Regions from separate parts of the Homo sapiens genome. Here regions 2, 3 and 4 are each linked to region 1. The links are contacts of gene promoters, found by promoter capture Hi-C in blood cells and fetal thymus (Javierre and others, 2016). All regions are on one chromosome and are shown on one strand. The core of a region is centred on a gene start or on the middle of the fragment in contact, and the rest is flanking DNA. Distances in the headings are between cores, read along the strand shown.

What was found. The method cuts DNA at HindIII sites, captures the fragments that hold promoters and counts their contacts. A CHiCAGO score of 5 or more calls a contact.
Region 2: a contact is called between a fragment that was not itself captured here and the fragment with the promoter of MMP24 in region 1, in 6 of 17 cell types (endothelial precursors, M0 macrophages, M1 macrophages and 3 more). The highest score is 10.2, in endothelial precursors.
Region 3: a contact is called between a fragment that was not itself captured here and the fragment with the promoter of MMP24 in region 1, in 6 of 17 cell types (M1 macrophages, endothelial precursors, M2 macrophages and 3 more). The highest score is 9.2, in M1 macrophages.
Region 4: the fragment with the promoter of GGT7 here is called in contact with the fragment with the promoter of MMP24 in region 1 in 3 of 17 cell types (endothelial precursors, erythroblasts and M2 macrophages); the score reaches 8.1 in endothelial precursors.

Annotation. Positions count from the first base shown.
Region 1 is chr20:35,224,732-35,228,446 of GRCh38, forward strand. MMP24 (matrix metallopeptidase 24) reads left to right here and starts at 1,959. Exons shown (of 9, transcript NM_006690.4): 1 at 1,959-2,253. The coding sequence starts at 2,008. All of the region lies in intron 3 of MMP24-AS1-EDEM2 (MMP24-AS1-EDEM2 readthrough), which reads right to left. The HindIII fragment of the contact is 9,584 bases long and covers 1-3,715 here.
Region 2 is chr20:34,829,271-34,832,985 of GRCh38, forward strand. No RefSeq gene overlaps it. Among named protein-coding and RNA genes, the nearest start is that of NCOA6, 5.5 kb to the left of the region's middle. The HindIII fragment of the contact is 3,581 bases long and covers 271-3,715 here.
Region 3 is chr20:34,848,744-34,852,458 of GRCh38, forward strand. It overlaps GGT7 (gamma-glutamyltransferase 7), which reads right to left. Exons shown (of 15, transcript NM_178026.3): 11 at 3,646-3,715; 12 at 3,412-3,529; 13 at 2,488-2,625; 14 at 1,218-1,317. Among named protein-coding and RNA genes, the nearest start is that of GGT7, 22 kb to the right of the region's middle. The HindIII fragment of the contact is 6,567 bases long and covers 1-3,715 here.
Region 4 is chr20:34,870,756-34,874,470 of GRCh38, forward strand. It overlaps GGT7 (gamma-glutamyltransferase 7), which reads right to left and starts at 2,101. Exons shown (of 15, transcript NM_178026.3): 1 at 1,892-2,101. The coding sequence starts at 2,060. RefSeq lists a silencer at 1,983-2,272. The HindIII fragment of the contact is 15,552 bases long and covers 1-3,715 here.

The DNA.
Region 1 (3,715 bases), core at 709-3,208:
CATTCCCATACCCATCTCACAGATCTTGTGGTCACCCCAGTTTCAGCAAGTCTAAAACCGAGCTCCTTGTCACCTCCTTCAAGCCAGTTCCTCCACATGAGGACTCCGTTTCTGTGAAGATGCTACCATCCATCTTTCTCGATTTGCCATCACTCCAAACTCCTTTCCCTCTTCTTGTATGCCCATTGTCTCTTAAATCTGTCTCTTTTCTCACCCCCATCCTAGAAAAAAATGGGTTCTGAAGTCAAATCGATTCAGCTCTATCACTTATGAATCACGCAAGTTTGGCAAACTTATTCAGAGTCTTCCACTTCTTTATCCTAAATTAGGGGTAATAATAGCATCTATTTCATAGGGTTTATCTATGAAGATTAAATGAGATATCGTGGAGGAAAGTGCTTAGCCCAGTAACTAGTATGTATTAGGCACTCAATAAATGTTAATTATTATTGTTATCCTTATTTCCTTATACTTAGACTATTACACTAGTCTCCTAACCAATCTCTCTGCCTCCTCTGGTCATTATTCTCTCCACTGGGAGGGGAACTAACATGGAATATCTATTAAGTGTCAAGCACCTCATGCTGAAAGCAATCTTATACAGTAATAGTAGCATCATTTTATAAAAATGGAACAGAGCCAAGATATGAACATAGGTCTGACGCTAAAGCCTGTGCCCTTTTTTCATCTCCAAATTACCACGTAATCATAAAATACTATTTTCACACATCATCCTGCTTAAACACACACATACACACACACACACCACACACACACAACCTTTAATGACCACCCTCCCCCATTTTCCTTCAGAACACAACCCAAATTTATTATCCTAGCATTCACTGTCTTGTACAACTTCCCTCACTTCCCAACACTTTCCTATAGGAACCCTGTGCTCCAGAGAAACTTATCTGCCGCCTCAGGCACATCCTGTACACCCTCAACTTCCTCCCTGAAATGCCCTCTCCTCTCCCCTCCCCTGGTTTAAATCCAGCCTTTCCTTCAGGTCCTAGCTAGAGTCCCACCCTCCTCCATTACACTTTTTCCTAACTTCCCCAGCCCCTCATCAGGTCTCCCTCGACCCCTGGAGCAGCCGCCTGTATCCTTGTTGACACGTGGTGTTTGCCATTCTGTTTTTCTTTGCGTTTATGTTTTCTCATCAAGCTGTAAACCTCTGCACTCCAGGAAATCGGCCTTCTCTTTTTTGTTTTTGTTTTTGGGTGTTTTTTTTTTTCCTTTCAGCATCCCAAGTAGCCCAGAGCCCTACAAATAGAAAGCGCTTGATAAATATGGGTTGTTTTGGATGAAAGATGATCTTCCCAGCTGGATGAGCTCTTTCCCTCTAGGGGTGAGGGACTGAGCTTCACCTCAACTTCACCTAATGTCTCACAGGAATGCCCCCTCTTAAACGCTCCTCAGGTCTTCTCTACCCCTTTCCCCCACCACCCCGGCCCAGGAGAGCCACTCAGAGCTCCCTCTCCGGAGTCACCCTCTCAGACCCAGGGCTATTTCTTTAGCTTGCTCTCGAACCCCGCCTTTACCCCAGAGCCGCTCCTCAGTCTCCTCCCCCAGGCTGCCTCTCAGGCCCCCTCTCCTCCAATGCCACTCCCTAGGACCCTCTCCCCAGGGTTCCGGACCCCCAACCCCGGATATGTTCCCCCAGGGCCATCCAGTTGTTCTACCTCCAGGATTACTGATTTAGCCTCTTCCCCCTCCTGCTCAGGGCTACCCCCAGACCCCGACCTCCAGTTCCACCCCTTCGGACCCTGCCTCTAGAACTGTTCTTTTAGCCTCTGCAACCCCCTCCCCAGCGCCGCTCCGCGGCCCCTGCCCCAGGGCTGGTCGGGGAGCCACTGCCCTCGCAGGTCCCGCCCGGGTGCTGCCCCCGCGCCCCCGGCCGCCCCCCACCGGGGCGGGGCGCGCGGAGGCGGGGGCGCGCTGGCGGCCGAGGCGGCGGCGGCGGCGGCGAAGGCAGGCGGGCCGGGCGCGGGCCCCGCCGCCGGGATGCCGAGGAGCCGGGGCGGCCGCGCCGCGCCGGGGCCGCCGCCGCCGCCGCCGCCGCCGGGCCAGGCCCCGCGCTGGAGCCGCTGGCGGGTCCCTGGGCGGCTGCTGCTGCTGCTGCTGCCCGCGCTCTGCTGCCTCCCGGGCGCCGCGCGGGCGGCGGCGGCGGCGGCGGGGGCAGGGAACCGGGCAGCGGTGGCGGTGGCGGTGGCGCGGGCGGACGAGGCGGAGGCGCCCTTCGCCGGGCAGGTGGGGCTGGCGCGCGGGGCCGGGGCGCGGGCTCGGGGCATCCGGGCAGGGCGGGGGGCGGCACCGGGGACGGGCCTGGGCCGGGCCGCACCTACTGCCGAGGTCGCGGAGGCGGCGCGCCGGGGGTCCGCGCCTTGGGTCCGGGCTGGCGCGGCCCAGGGCGGGGGCTGGGGAGGGCCTCGCCGAGGGCCGCCGAGGCCGGGAGCTGCTTCAGCACCGCGGACAGGGGCAGCGGGCGGGGGCCGAGCACGAGGGTCGGGTTTGTTGTGTTGGCAGTGGGGTGTGTGGCCTGCATGACTATGTGCGAGGGAAACCGTACAACGCCTCGGAGTAAATAGTAAGCGCAGCCAGTCTGTTGTGGGTTGGGAGAAGAAACCGAGGATGTTCAAGCTGGAGAAGGGGGAGGGGGAGGGCGGAGGAAGGACTCGATCACTGTCTTCGTAGCTGAAGGGCTGTCAGGTGGAGGTAGGATAGACTTGTTCTAGCTTGGCCCCACAGGGCAGAACTAGGGCCAGCGGGAGTGGGGGTTGCAAGAAGACAAATTTGGGCTCGATATAGGAAGAAGTTTGTAACAATTGGAGCTGCTCAACCAGCTTAGGAGGCGGCGAGCTGCTCATCACTGGCATGTGCAAGTAAAAGCTCTCGGAGGGGATTGGATGGAGGCATGCATAATGCTTGCATGGATGCATACATCATCATCACAATAATGCCAGCTAGCATTTACTGAACACTCACTATGTGCCAGGCCTGGTGCTATGTTTTATACGAATTATCCAATTCAATCCTCATAACTACTCTATGAAATAGCTGCAATTATTATCCCCATTTTACAGATGGGGATACAGACTCAAAGAGCTTAAGTAACTTGCCCAAGGTCACACAGCTAGTGAGTGATGGAATTGGAATTCTAACCTAGGCAGGCTGACTCTAGTCTCCCCTTATTTACCCATGACCTTATCCTATATCTCATGGGGGGTGCAGTTGGACTAATTTCTCTAGTATCTTCCAACCTAGAGGACTGCAATATTCTAATAAATGATGTTGGGACAATGGTGTTTTGCTGAGGAAAATCAGAGTGATAGCCTCGCCACCCTAAGAGATGGAGTATATTTGTTGAAGCAGGCAGTCTGTTTGTTTAGAAGAATCTGCCTCAAGAGATATTCTTAATTGGGCATGGAGCTCAGGGGGTCATACGTGCACTGAAATTGCGTACAAATTTGTAAGTGCAAATGTGTGTATTTCTAGGCGAGGACCCCTAGATTTCTTCAGCCTCTCAAAGGGTTACAGGTTCCACAAAACAACAAAAAAGATATGGTGTGTAAAAGAACCTTTAGTGCCAGTTGGCAGTTGTCCTCCAAAGATTTTATAATTGCTGGTTGACTTGTTGTGGAAACTTTGCTTAGCCTCTTTGTGTTTTCACATGTGTTTTATCACATGTTAAAGTAATGCATTTCCTAAGTTT
Region 2 (3,715 bases), core at 811-3,310, 400 kb before region 1:
CTATGGACACCATAAGGAAGAAAACCTTATCCATCTTGTTTAACATTGTTTTCTCAGCATATAGCACAGCACCTGGCACAGAGTAGGTGCTCAGTAAGTATTTGTTGCGTTTGTGAATCCTAAGCACAATACTAGGTATTGGGCCCAAGAGGGCAGACAGGAGCAAAGAGAACCACAGGCAACCGCAACAGGGGGGCACCTTAGACCTTTGAGCCTATGAAATTAACACCAAATAAATTTAAAATATCCTGGAAAAAAAAACTTTTCTGAAGCTTTTTATTTTAACTTTTAAAAACTGAAATATAATTTATATACAATAAAATGAAAAACTATTAAGTGTATATCTAATAATTTTTTTGCCTACATTCCTGTGTTACCACCACCTAGATCAAGTTATAGATCTATCAACCCAGAAAGTTCCCTTTTGTTCTCTTTTGTATGTTCTCTTCTAATAAATACCTGCTCCCCCAGATGTAACCATTATTCTGACTTCTAGCACCATAGATTAACTTTTTTTTTTTTTTTGAGATGGAGTCGCGCTCTGTCGCCCAGGCTGGAGTGCAGTGGCACAATCTCGGCTCACTGCAAGCTCTGCCTCCCGGGTTCACGCCATTCTCCTGCCTCAACCTCCTGAGTAGCTGGGACTACAGGCACCCACCACCACGCCAGGCTAATTTTTTGTATTTTTAGTAGAGACGGGGTTTCACCGTGGTCTCGATCTCCTGACCTTGTGATCTGCCCGCCTTGGCTTCCCAAAGTGCTGGGATTACAGGCATGAGCCACCACGCCCAGCCGTAGATTAACTTTGACAGTTTTTGATCTCCATAGAAACAGAACCATACAGTTTGTACTCTTGTGTTAGCCTGGAAATCTGACATAGCCAAAGGGTGATTTTTTGGATAAAGATACAATTAATGAATGACTTGATTAATTAACCTGAAAGACTGAATGAAAAGCTCTGGCTACTTCATCCTACAGACACAGAGGTCCTGACAACAGCCAGCCCAGAGGCTGAGAAGACCTCACTGACATATTTCCAAACCCACAAAGACTTCTAGAGATAAGAAAGCTCTCAAAGATTCCAGAAACTCAGCAATAAGACTGGGTGCTATGGCTCATGCCTGTAATTCCAGCACTTTGGGAGGCCAAGGCAGGAGGATTGCTTGAGTCCAGGAGTTTGAGACCAGCCTGGGCAACACAGTAAGACTTCATCTCTACAAAAAATTTAAAAATTAGCTGGTCATGGTCGTGTGTGCCCGTAATCCCAACTACTCATGAGACTGAGGTGGAAGGATCACTTCAGCCTGGGAATTGGAGGCTACAGTAAGCCAAGATCACATCACTGCTCTCCAGACTGGGTGACAGAGTGAGACCCTGTCTCAAAAAAAAAAGGCAAAGGACTTGAATAGACATTTCTTCAAAGAAGATATACAAATGGCTAATAAGCACATGAAAAGATGTTCAATCTCTGTAGTCATTAAGGAAATGCAAATCAAAACCACAATGAGATACCAATTCATACCCTATTTATGTATGTATGTATTTATTTATTGAGACAGAATCTCACTCTGTCGCCCAGACTGGAGTGCAGTGGTGCGATCTCAGCTCACTGCAACCTCTGCCTCCCAGGTTCAAGCAATTCTTGTACCTCAGCCTCTGAAGTAGCCGGAATTACAGGCGCGCACCACCATGGCCAGCTAATTTTTTGTATTTTTAGTAGAGGTGGGGTTTTGCCATGTTGTCCAGGCTGGTCTCAAACTCCTGAGCTCAGTCATTCCCCCTGCCTTGGCCTCCCAATGTGTTAGGATTACAGGCGTGAGCCACGGCGCCCAGCTGCTGTTATTTTTTTAAAAGGCAGAAAATAACAAGTTTTGGCAAAGATGCGGAGAAATTAGCACTTTTATGCATTGCTGGTGGGAATGTATTTTGTTTTTGTTTTTTGTTTTTCTTTGAGACGATCTCGCTCTGTCACCCAGGCTGGAGTGCAGTGGTGCAATCTCGGCTCACTGCAACCTCCGCCTCCCGGGTTCAAGCAATTCTCATGCCCCAGCCTCCAGAGTAGCTGGGATTACAGGCATGCGCCACCATGCCCGGCCAATCTTTGCATTTTCTGTAGAGACAGGGTTTCACCCTGTTGCCCAGGCTAGTCTCAAACTCCTGGGCTCAAGTGTTCCACCTGCCTTGGCCTCCCAAAATGCTGGGATTACAGGCGTGAGCCACTGCGCCCAGCCAGGAATATAAATTGATGCAGCCATGGTGGAAAACAGTTTGGCATTTCCTCAAAAAGTTAAACATAGGCGCCCCTGTAATCCCAGCTACTTGGGAGGCTAGGGCAGGAGGATCACTTGAACCCAGGAGTTTGAGTCCACCCTGGGCAACATAGCAAGACCCAGTCTCAAGGAAAAAAATGTTAAACATAGGATTACCCTATGAGCCAGTAATTCCACTTCTGGGTATTCATCCAAAATAAGTGAAATCACATTAGTACCACTGTACTCCAGCCTGGGTGACAGATGAGACCCTGTCTCAAAGTTTAAAAATAAATAAATGAACAAGCCAGGTGTGGCAGCACATACCTGTGGTCCCAGCTACCCAGGAGGCTAAGGCGAGAGGATCAGTTGAGCCCAGGAGGTTGAGGCTGCAGTGAGCCATGTTTCCATTCCTGCATTCCAGCCTGGGTGATGGAGCAAAACCCTGTTTCGAAATAAAATTTAAAAAATAAAGAAGTGAAAGCAGAGTTTCAAAGAGATATTTGTGCACCCCTGTTCACAGCAGCATTGTTCACAATAGCCAACATGTGGAAGCAACCTACATATCTATAGACAGTTGAATAGATAAGCAAAATGTGGTCTATACATGCAATGAAGCATCGCTCAGCCTTCATGAAGGAAGGAAATTCTGACCCGACGTACACCACAGATGAACCTTGAAGATATTATGCTAAGTGAAATAAGTCGGTCACAAAAAGACAAATATTGTATGATTCCTCCTATATGAGGTTCCTAAAGTAGTCAAATTCATAAAGACAGAAAGTAGAGTGGTTGCCAAGGGCTAGAGGGAGAGGGAATGGGAAGTTTGTGTTTAATGAATACAAAGTTTCAGTTGGGGAAAACAAAGTTCTGGAGGTAGATGGTGGTGATGGTTGCATGTGAATATACTTAATGCCACCGAATTATATGCTTAAAAATGGTTAAAATGGCAAATTTTATGTTATATATGTATTTTACCATACACACGCACAAAAGATTCCAGAGCCACTATCCTAATTTTTTCACCTTGTTGTCCATGTCCTTAAGCCAAGGGTCATGGGTGTTCCTGGGATCTGCAAGAATGCAAAGAGCTGAGAAGACAGGGGCGCATTGGGCACCTGCAGATCCTGTAGGTAAAAATAGCAGGAGCCTAGGCAACACAAATACTTGTTGCCTGCAGGCAGGCAGCAAAAGAACAAAAACAGGCCATAAACTAGCAGATAGTATAGCATAATGATTACAATATTGGGCTCTGAAGCCAAAGTGAATCTGAACACCCAAGTTCAGATTCTAGCTCTGCCATTTATTAGCTATGTGAAGAAACTGCAACCAAAAGGAGATAAATGACTTGTCCAACAGGGTCCAAAGTATTTTCTCATTTATATTGTTTAAAAATCTTTACATGGGTTTTGTTTCATTCTATATCCCCAGTAGACTGTAAGCTCCCCAAGGAAGCTATGTTTGTA
Region 3 (3,715 bases), core at 415-2,914, 380 kb before region 1:
TCTTTGACTAGTTTATAACTTCTGTGAGCCTCAGTTTCTTCCTCTATAGAATGGGGATAATAATATTGAACAGGCAAGGACTGTGTCTCAATCAATTCTGTATTCTTTTGGACTCGTGTCATATTAATACATTGTCTGTTATAATAAAAACTCCTCAAAGGTGCAGATACTTTCCTGTTTATAAAATTCAGCTGTGCCAAAATTAAGCCCTTTTCTTAGAGGAAAGTCCGTCTCCTCACCCTAAGGTCCACGATCCGGCGCCTGCCTGCCTCTCTGATCTAATTTCATCCTTGCTTACCTTGGTCTCCTTTTTAGTCCTCAAACTCACCAAACCCACTCCTGCCCTGAGTTCTTTGTACTTGCTCCCCTGACCTACAAAGCTCTGCACCAATTCTTTGTATAGTGGGCTCTCTCTTACTTTTTTTTTTTTTTTTTAGGAGATAGGATCTCACTCTGTTACCCAGGCTGTAGGGCAGTGGCGTGATCTTGGCTCACTGTAACCTCTGCCTCCCTGGTTCAAGCAATTCTCCTGCCTCAGCCTCCCGAGTAGCTAGAACCACAGGCACGTGCCATGCCTGGCTAATTTAAAAAAATTTTTTTATAGAGACGGGGGGGTGGAGGGGGGTCTCACTATGTTACTGAGGCTGCTCTTGAACTCTTGGCCTCAAGCGATCCTCTCACCTCAGCCTGGGATTATAGGTCTGAGCCATTGCACCCAGTTTCTTTCTCACTCTTTAGATCTCAGCTTAAATGCCACCAAAGAGAAGTCTTCCTTGATCATTGAGTCCGTCCTATTATATCACCCTGCTTTGACAGTTGGCAGAGCATTTATTTGTCTCATATTTCTTTGATGACTTATTTTCTTGTTTGCCTGTAAATGCAGAATCCCCAGCACCTAGGATGATGCCTGGAACACGTACGTGTTCAATACAAACTGTTGAGTAAATGAAAGTTTGAAGAATGAACAACTGTGTCTTATTTTACAAATGAGAAAACTGAGGCTCAGAGTTGAGACATGGATTTCCCAAGGCCACACAACCAGGAAATGGCAAGACTGGTTCCAATCCCCAGATCGTTCACTGCTCCAATAGAAATTTGCCAAATAAAACCAAACTTCACTGGCAGTTGGTGCTGGTTGAGGCATGGGCACCCTTGGGAGGAGTCCTTTCTCTACCTGTCCCTGTGCCCGCCCCACGAGGTCTCTGCTCTGCACTCACTGTCCACCTGCAGGAGGTTGGACTGCAGGTCCGGGTGTAGGCGGCCGCGGGCCAGGCTGTCACTCAGGTTCCGGTTCAAGGTCAGGACATTCAGCAGAACCTGTGGTAGCCAAGGTACAGAAAAATCAGGGCTGTCCCAGGGGTGATGGTCCAGGATTCCTCAGCTCTCACCCTTGGTCCAGGCTCCTTAGTCTTGAGAATTCTTACACCGGGTGTCATCTGAGCCTCCTAACAGCCCTGGAAGACAGGCAGGCCTGTGATGACTGTTTCCATTTCACAGAGAGGGAAAGTGAAGTCCAGCAAGGAAAATGACTTACTCCAGAGTTTAGAGGAAGCCAGGGAAGATACACCACTAGAACCAAGTCTCTTTAATCTAGCCCGGGGCTCCCTTCTTTTCTCTCTGGATAGGGCAAGGTTAATAGCTAGGAGTGGTCTAGGGCACAATGTGGGTGCTTTTAACTTAGTGGTTAGGAGTGTGCGTAGGCTCTGGAACCAAACTGCCTCCCTGCTCTTTCTAGCTGAAGGTACTTGACCTAAAGTCTTAACCTCTCTGGGCTTCGGTTTCCTTATCTATAAAATAGAAATAAGGATTCTCTCCAGAACTGGGAAGGTTAAAATGGTTAACACACATAACACAGTGCCCAGCACTTAGTACGAACTCTTTAAATGTTAGCTATTGTTATTATTTCCATTTTAAAGATGAAGAGACTGAGGTTCAGAGCTGTTAAGTGAATGCTCCAGCATCACACAGTTACAAATTGGTAGCACTTGGGCCGGAACCCAGGAGTGTCTGATTCCAGAACTTAAGATCGTTAACTCACCACCTGCCAAAATAGGTGCCTGGCATATATATCAGGTTCTCAAGACATTCATGGAGCCATTCTGAGGTGTTCTGGAGAAAAGCAGGCCCTTCCTTTCAAATCCCACCCTAAAGAGGGCTGGTTGTCTATTCAGATGCTGGGTAGAGGTATAATGGGACTTGAGGTTAACAGAACCCAGGCCACCCAGATGCTAACCCCACTTTTCAATCTACTGACCCTGCCATTTCCCCTGCAACCGGGAAAGACAGGGAGCATCAGGGCTCCATTTTCACTAAGAAACTCAGCGCAGCCCATGTCCACATTGCCCAGGATGCGCCTGGCACAAAACAGCCTCAGCCCATGTTTGCCGCATGAGGAATGGAAACAAGCCACAGATATGACAGGCATCTGCAGTCTAGGCCACAGCTTGGCTCCCGGCTGAAAAAGGCCAACCATGGCGTAAACCTCACCTGTGTCAGGCCGCTGAGGCCCCGCGCAGCTCCATTGGCCCCCAGAGCGAGGTAGGTTCCACAGAGCCCCTCCGCGGGTCGGACCACTGTGGGCAGCAGGAAAGAGAGTGGCCGCTTCCCTGGCTGCACTGAATTCTCCTGTTGTTAGAGGACAGAGACCACAAGGGGCAGGTGGGGTGGGACAAGACCGGGAAAGGGCCCCTCCACAACCCTTCCAACTGCTCTCCCTCTTCTACATCTTCCACAGGCCCAGTTTTCCTGGGAGACTGGTCCCTTCCCAGACAACAGTTTGCTATCTGTGAAATGGGTAGGGTGCCTGGATGGGTGGGGTGGATGGGGGAGTGATAAGTACATCCACTGAGCTATGAGGCTGCTACGGGTCACAGGAGAAAGGACCAAGCCAAGAAAGATGGCAATGGGGAAGAACAGGATAACCCCACCCTGATCATCTCTATGTGTCTTTGCCCTGCTGGGGCCCCAGATGGCGGGGTGTAAGAGTGCTGATTTTTAACTAGATAAAAATTATTAAATCCTTCCTCCTTGGGTCCCTCTTTGGTGCCCAACCATAGGGCTGAGCCCCATCAGCTCAAGCTCACATAGTCACAGACCGCTAGTGCTGGAAAATGCCCAAAACATCAAATAGGAGCCAAAACCCTCATTGTACAGGTGAAGAAATTGCCCAGAGAGGGCAAGATCTTCACAAGGTCACACAGTAAGACAGTGACAGAATGGGACAAGGGTTCTTCAGACCCACCAGGCTCCATGTCCCAGACTTAGCAGGGCTAGGGATGAGGTGAACCTCTTCTTTAGGCTTCCTTATACTAGAAGATTCTGGAGAAAGTAGGGAGAAAGGGGCAGCCATGCCATTGCACCTCCTACCTATAGGCCTCAGGGTCCCCAGGAAAGCAGGGAAGCAAATCCTACCAGGCTGGGTGCAGAGTGGTTAGCTGTCCGGTTGGGCCAGGAGAAGTCCAGCATCTGGCTGTTGAGCAGGATCCCCGAGGGGGTGATAAGGCCGCTGCCAAAGGGCTGGTTCAGGGAGCTGGGGGCCGAGGTGGGGTTGGGTGAGCCCTGGCCCATCCTCACCTCTACCCAGCCCCCACCCCCTCTTGGTTCAGAGGATCCCTTGTTCCAGGTTCTGAGTCTGAGCTGGCATACCTAACCATGGCCACAATGAAGTCATCAGGTCCCATGATCAGCACCTGGGCAGCCGTGGGAGCTCCGTCTA
Region 4 (3,715 bases), core at 851-3,350, 350 kb before region 1:
GCCACCACACCGGCCAGTGTATTTTGTTTTGTTTTTTGTTTTTTGTTTCTTTTTGAGACTGAGTCTCACTCTGTCACCCAGGCTGGAGTGCAGTGGAGTGATCTCGGCTCACTGTAACCTCTGCCTCCCCAGTTCGAGTGATTCTCCTGCCTCAGCCTCCCGAGTAGCTAGGATTACAGGCACCCACCACCATGCCCAGCTAATTTTTGTATTTTTAGTAGAGATGGGGTTTCACCATGTTGGCCAGGCAGGTCTTGAACTCCTGACCTCAAGTGATCCACCCACCTCAGGCATGAGCCACCGCGCCCGGCCTATGGATAAGGTCTTGATGCTGGAGAAAGGAGAGTGAACAAAACAATCATGATCCCTGCCCTCATGGGGCTTACAGACAGGGAGTAATCAGATAATTGCACAAATAAATAATCATAGATTTTGGTAAATGCTAAGACATTTACAGAGGGCCAGAAGAAAACATGTCAGGCAGTTCCAATCTCTAGGTCAAGAGAGACAGGCATTCTCTGTTGAGCTGGAAGAGGAAACTAAGGCCCAGGACAGGGTAGGTGTGCCTGTTGTCGCTTGGTGAGTCAGGGCTGTATTAGGACCAGAAGTCTCACTCCTGACTACTGAATAAAAGGCCTAGCTTCAGGCTGATATCCATCATGACACATCTTCCCACTCCTCTCCCTGCTACCTCCTGATTCCACTCCCTTTGGAAAATAAGTTTTGATCCGCAGCCCTGACATTTGACGCCCATAAACCTCTAAACTCCATCTTCATTATCTCCTCACCCCCACCCCATACAGAGTGCAGTCCAGTCAGGTTGGCAAGGGCTGCTGGTCAGGGCCAGATGACCAGAAAGTGTAGAGGAGGAGAGAATTTGGGGCTTTCAGGCTGGGAGCAGCTAGGGAAGGGCCAAGCCGGAAAAGCAGCATCTGCCAGGCTGGTAAGAGACAAGGCTCAAGTGCAGGCACTGCGAGGAAGCGAGAGTGAGGTAGAAGGATGCTCTAATGCCAGGAAGTGACGTGCAGGGACAGAGGGATGGGGGATGAAGGATGAAGAATGGAGGGGAGGATGAAGCTGGGCCACATGGCTAGGAGGAAGAGCAGCAGGGAAGGAATGCACAGAGAGCTCTTTGCCCCCAGGTCTCTTCCAATCCCTGTCTCCTCCTTCTCTTACCCCCACTTCTCACAATTCCAGCAGAGGGCTGAGGGGAACACAGTAAAATTCTGGAGACTGCTTCCTAGGGAGCAGAGTACCTTACTAATACCCCGGCCAGATCCATGGCTCAGGGAGGGGTGGGGTAATCCACAGGAGAGTGAAGGCGTTCTAGTCCCCAAGGACTTTTGAGAGGTCATGCAGTCCATGCCTCCGTCTCCCAACACCCAACAGAGGGGAATCATATTCTCTTTACCCCTCCCTAGACATGAAGAGATTCTCCGCTTCTCCCAGACCCTCTGCTTCTCACAATCCCTGGCTGTGGGGAACTTCTCTTAAGGCACAGATTGGATCCCTCTTGCTGCAGTCTCTGACTTGGTTTCTCCTATCCTGTCCTCTGTGGCTAGAGAAAGCCCTCTTCTGGGTGATCACAGCGGTTCCTTAGGATCTCCCCTTCAACATTCCTTCATCGTTAGTTGGTTCTTCCCAGAAGGTAAGCCCAATCCCTTCTACTGCAGTCCCTAGCATCCTCTCCGTTGTCGCATCCTACGCCTCCAAGGCAGAAATGCACCCCCTTCCTCACCAAATAATTAACAGAGACAAGGGAGAAGAAGGGAGAGATCCAAGAAGATGGGGATGAATTAAGGAGATGGAGCTGGAGGTGGATGCTTGACACAGAAGAAGGAAGACCGGGGACTTCCCAAGGCAGGGCAGGGACGGGGTCAGCGGGCCTCACCGGTGTCGGGGTCTCCCAGAAAGGCGTCCTCGTCCTTGCGGCCCCTCAGCGGGGCCGCGGGCGCCGGCTCGTCCTCGGGCAGCCGCGGGAAGCTGGTGATGCTCATGTAGTCCACTGGCGAGTAGGCGCCCAGGGCGCTCTCCTGGCTGGCCTCGTTCTCCGCCGCCATCCTCGCCCGCGCCCCCCAGCAGCGCAGCGCCTGCCGGAAGTGGCTGCGGCGGGGGAGTGGGAGGGCGGAGGGCGGGGCCTGATCTTCGCGACAGCCGGGAGGGGGCGCCTCTCCCAGCCCTCGGCCGTGTCCCGGTCTGACTCGCCCCCGTCTGCTCAGCGCTATCAGCCTGCAGCTGGCACACAGGTGCGTGTAGATGGACAGCCAGGAAGGCAGCGCAGGGTCGAGGGGAGAGCGCGGGGCAAGCGAGACTTCAGTGGCTCTGCACTTTACGCAGCTCAGGGACCAAACCCCTTCCTCCTTCCAGCCTGAATACAGCTAGTGTCCTCCTCAAATCCCAGGCTTCCTTTTCGGGCCCCAGACCCTTTCACTGACCGCAAATCCCTCTCGACCCCAGATCCTGTCTCTGACCCCAAACTCCTCGGACCCCAGACCCCTCCTTGAATTCCGAGATCCTCCTCCTCCGATTTTAGACTCCTCCTCCGACCTTAGACCTCTTTTTCGACTTCAGACTCTGTCTTCACCCCCAAACCCTTTTGAAAACCCCAGCCCATGCTTCATCTCCAGGCCTCTTTGACTGCAGACGCCTCTTTGGACAACAGATCCCTCCTCTGACCTCAGATCCCTTCCCGCACCCCGACACTTCTGACTCCTCTTTCAACCGCATTCTCAAACTTTAGTGTGTGTTAGGATCTTTGAAAGCGGATCCCCAGATTCCACTCCAGAGATCATGATTCAGTAGGCTGGGATGAGGTCCTTGGAACCTGAATATTTACCATCATTTTAAGAGTTTTTGATGTGGTTCTGGAAAGGACACTTTGAGAAAGAAGGAGTGGTGGTAGTGATGGTAGGGCAGGAGTGGGGCAAGGTGGGGAATAGGTCTCCATATTCTGGATGTCTGGGTTCTATTCTGCCACCGCTCAAACACTGTGTAATCTTGGGCAAGACAATTAGTCTCTCTATCAGTTTCCCCATCTGTGAAATGGAAAGAATAATAGTACCCATTTTAGAGGGTTGTCATGAGGATTAAGTAACAGAATGGAAAGCGATTAGTATAGGGCTTGGCACCTACTCAATAAATGGCATCATCATCATCATCATCATTGCCTTAATCTGGTAGATTCATTCCCTCCAAACTCATCCATCCTCTCTCCACTCCAAAATTCCAACCACACTACAGCTTGTACTACTTCTCCATATCCAAGGATGAGGGAGGTTCCTTCTTTTACGAGGTCTCTGTTCCAAACTTTCATTGTGAAGTCCACAGGAAGAGAGGGGGGCTGGTGAAGCCTCTATACACACATCCTTTCTCTTCCCAACCCCAGACCAGTCTCAGGGATGGCCTGAAGTGCTTGAAAAATCTACTATATACACAGCAGCTGCAGTAGCAACTATAGACAGGAGGGGGAAGCAGTGTGTCGGGAACAGCTCTGGGGTTTGGGTGTAGGACTTGGGAGAGAGGATAGGAAGGAGAGGGCTACTCAGAGCTGTGTGGTAAGAGTGCCCAGGGAGGGTAACAGTCTATCACCAAAAAGTGTACCCATTGTCTGTGCCTTTCCCCACCCCAGAGAGTTCTTATCTCCTCAGTGATGTTTGTAGGGTCTATTACACTACCCTGAGGTCTAATCCCTCTGGTGGGACCCTTCCCCACTTGA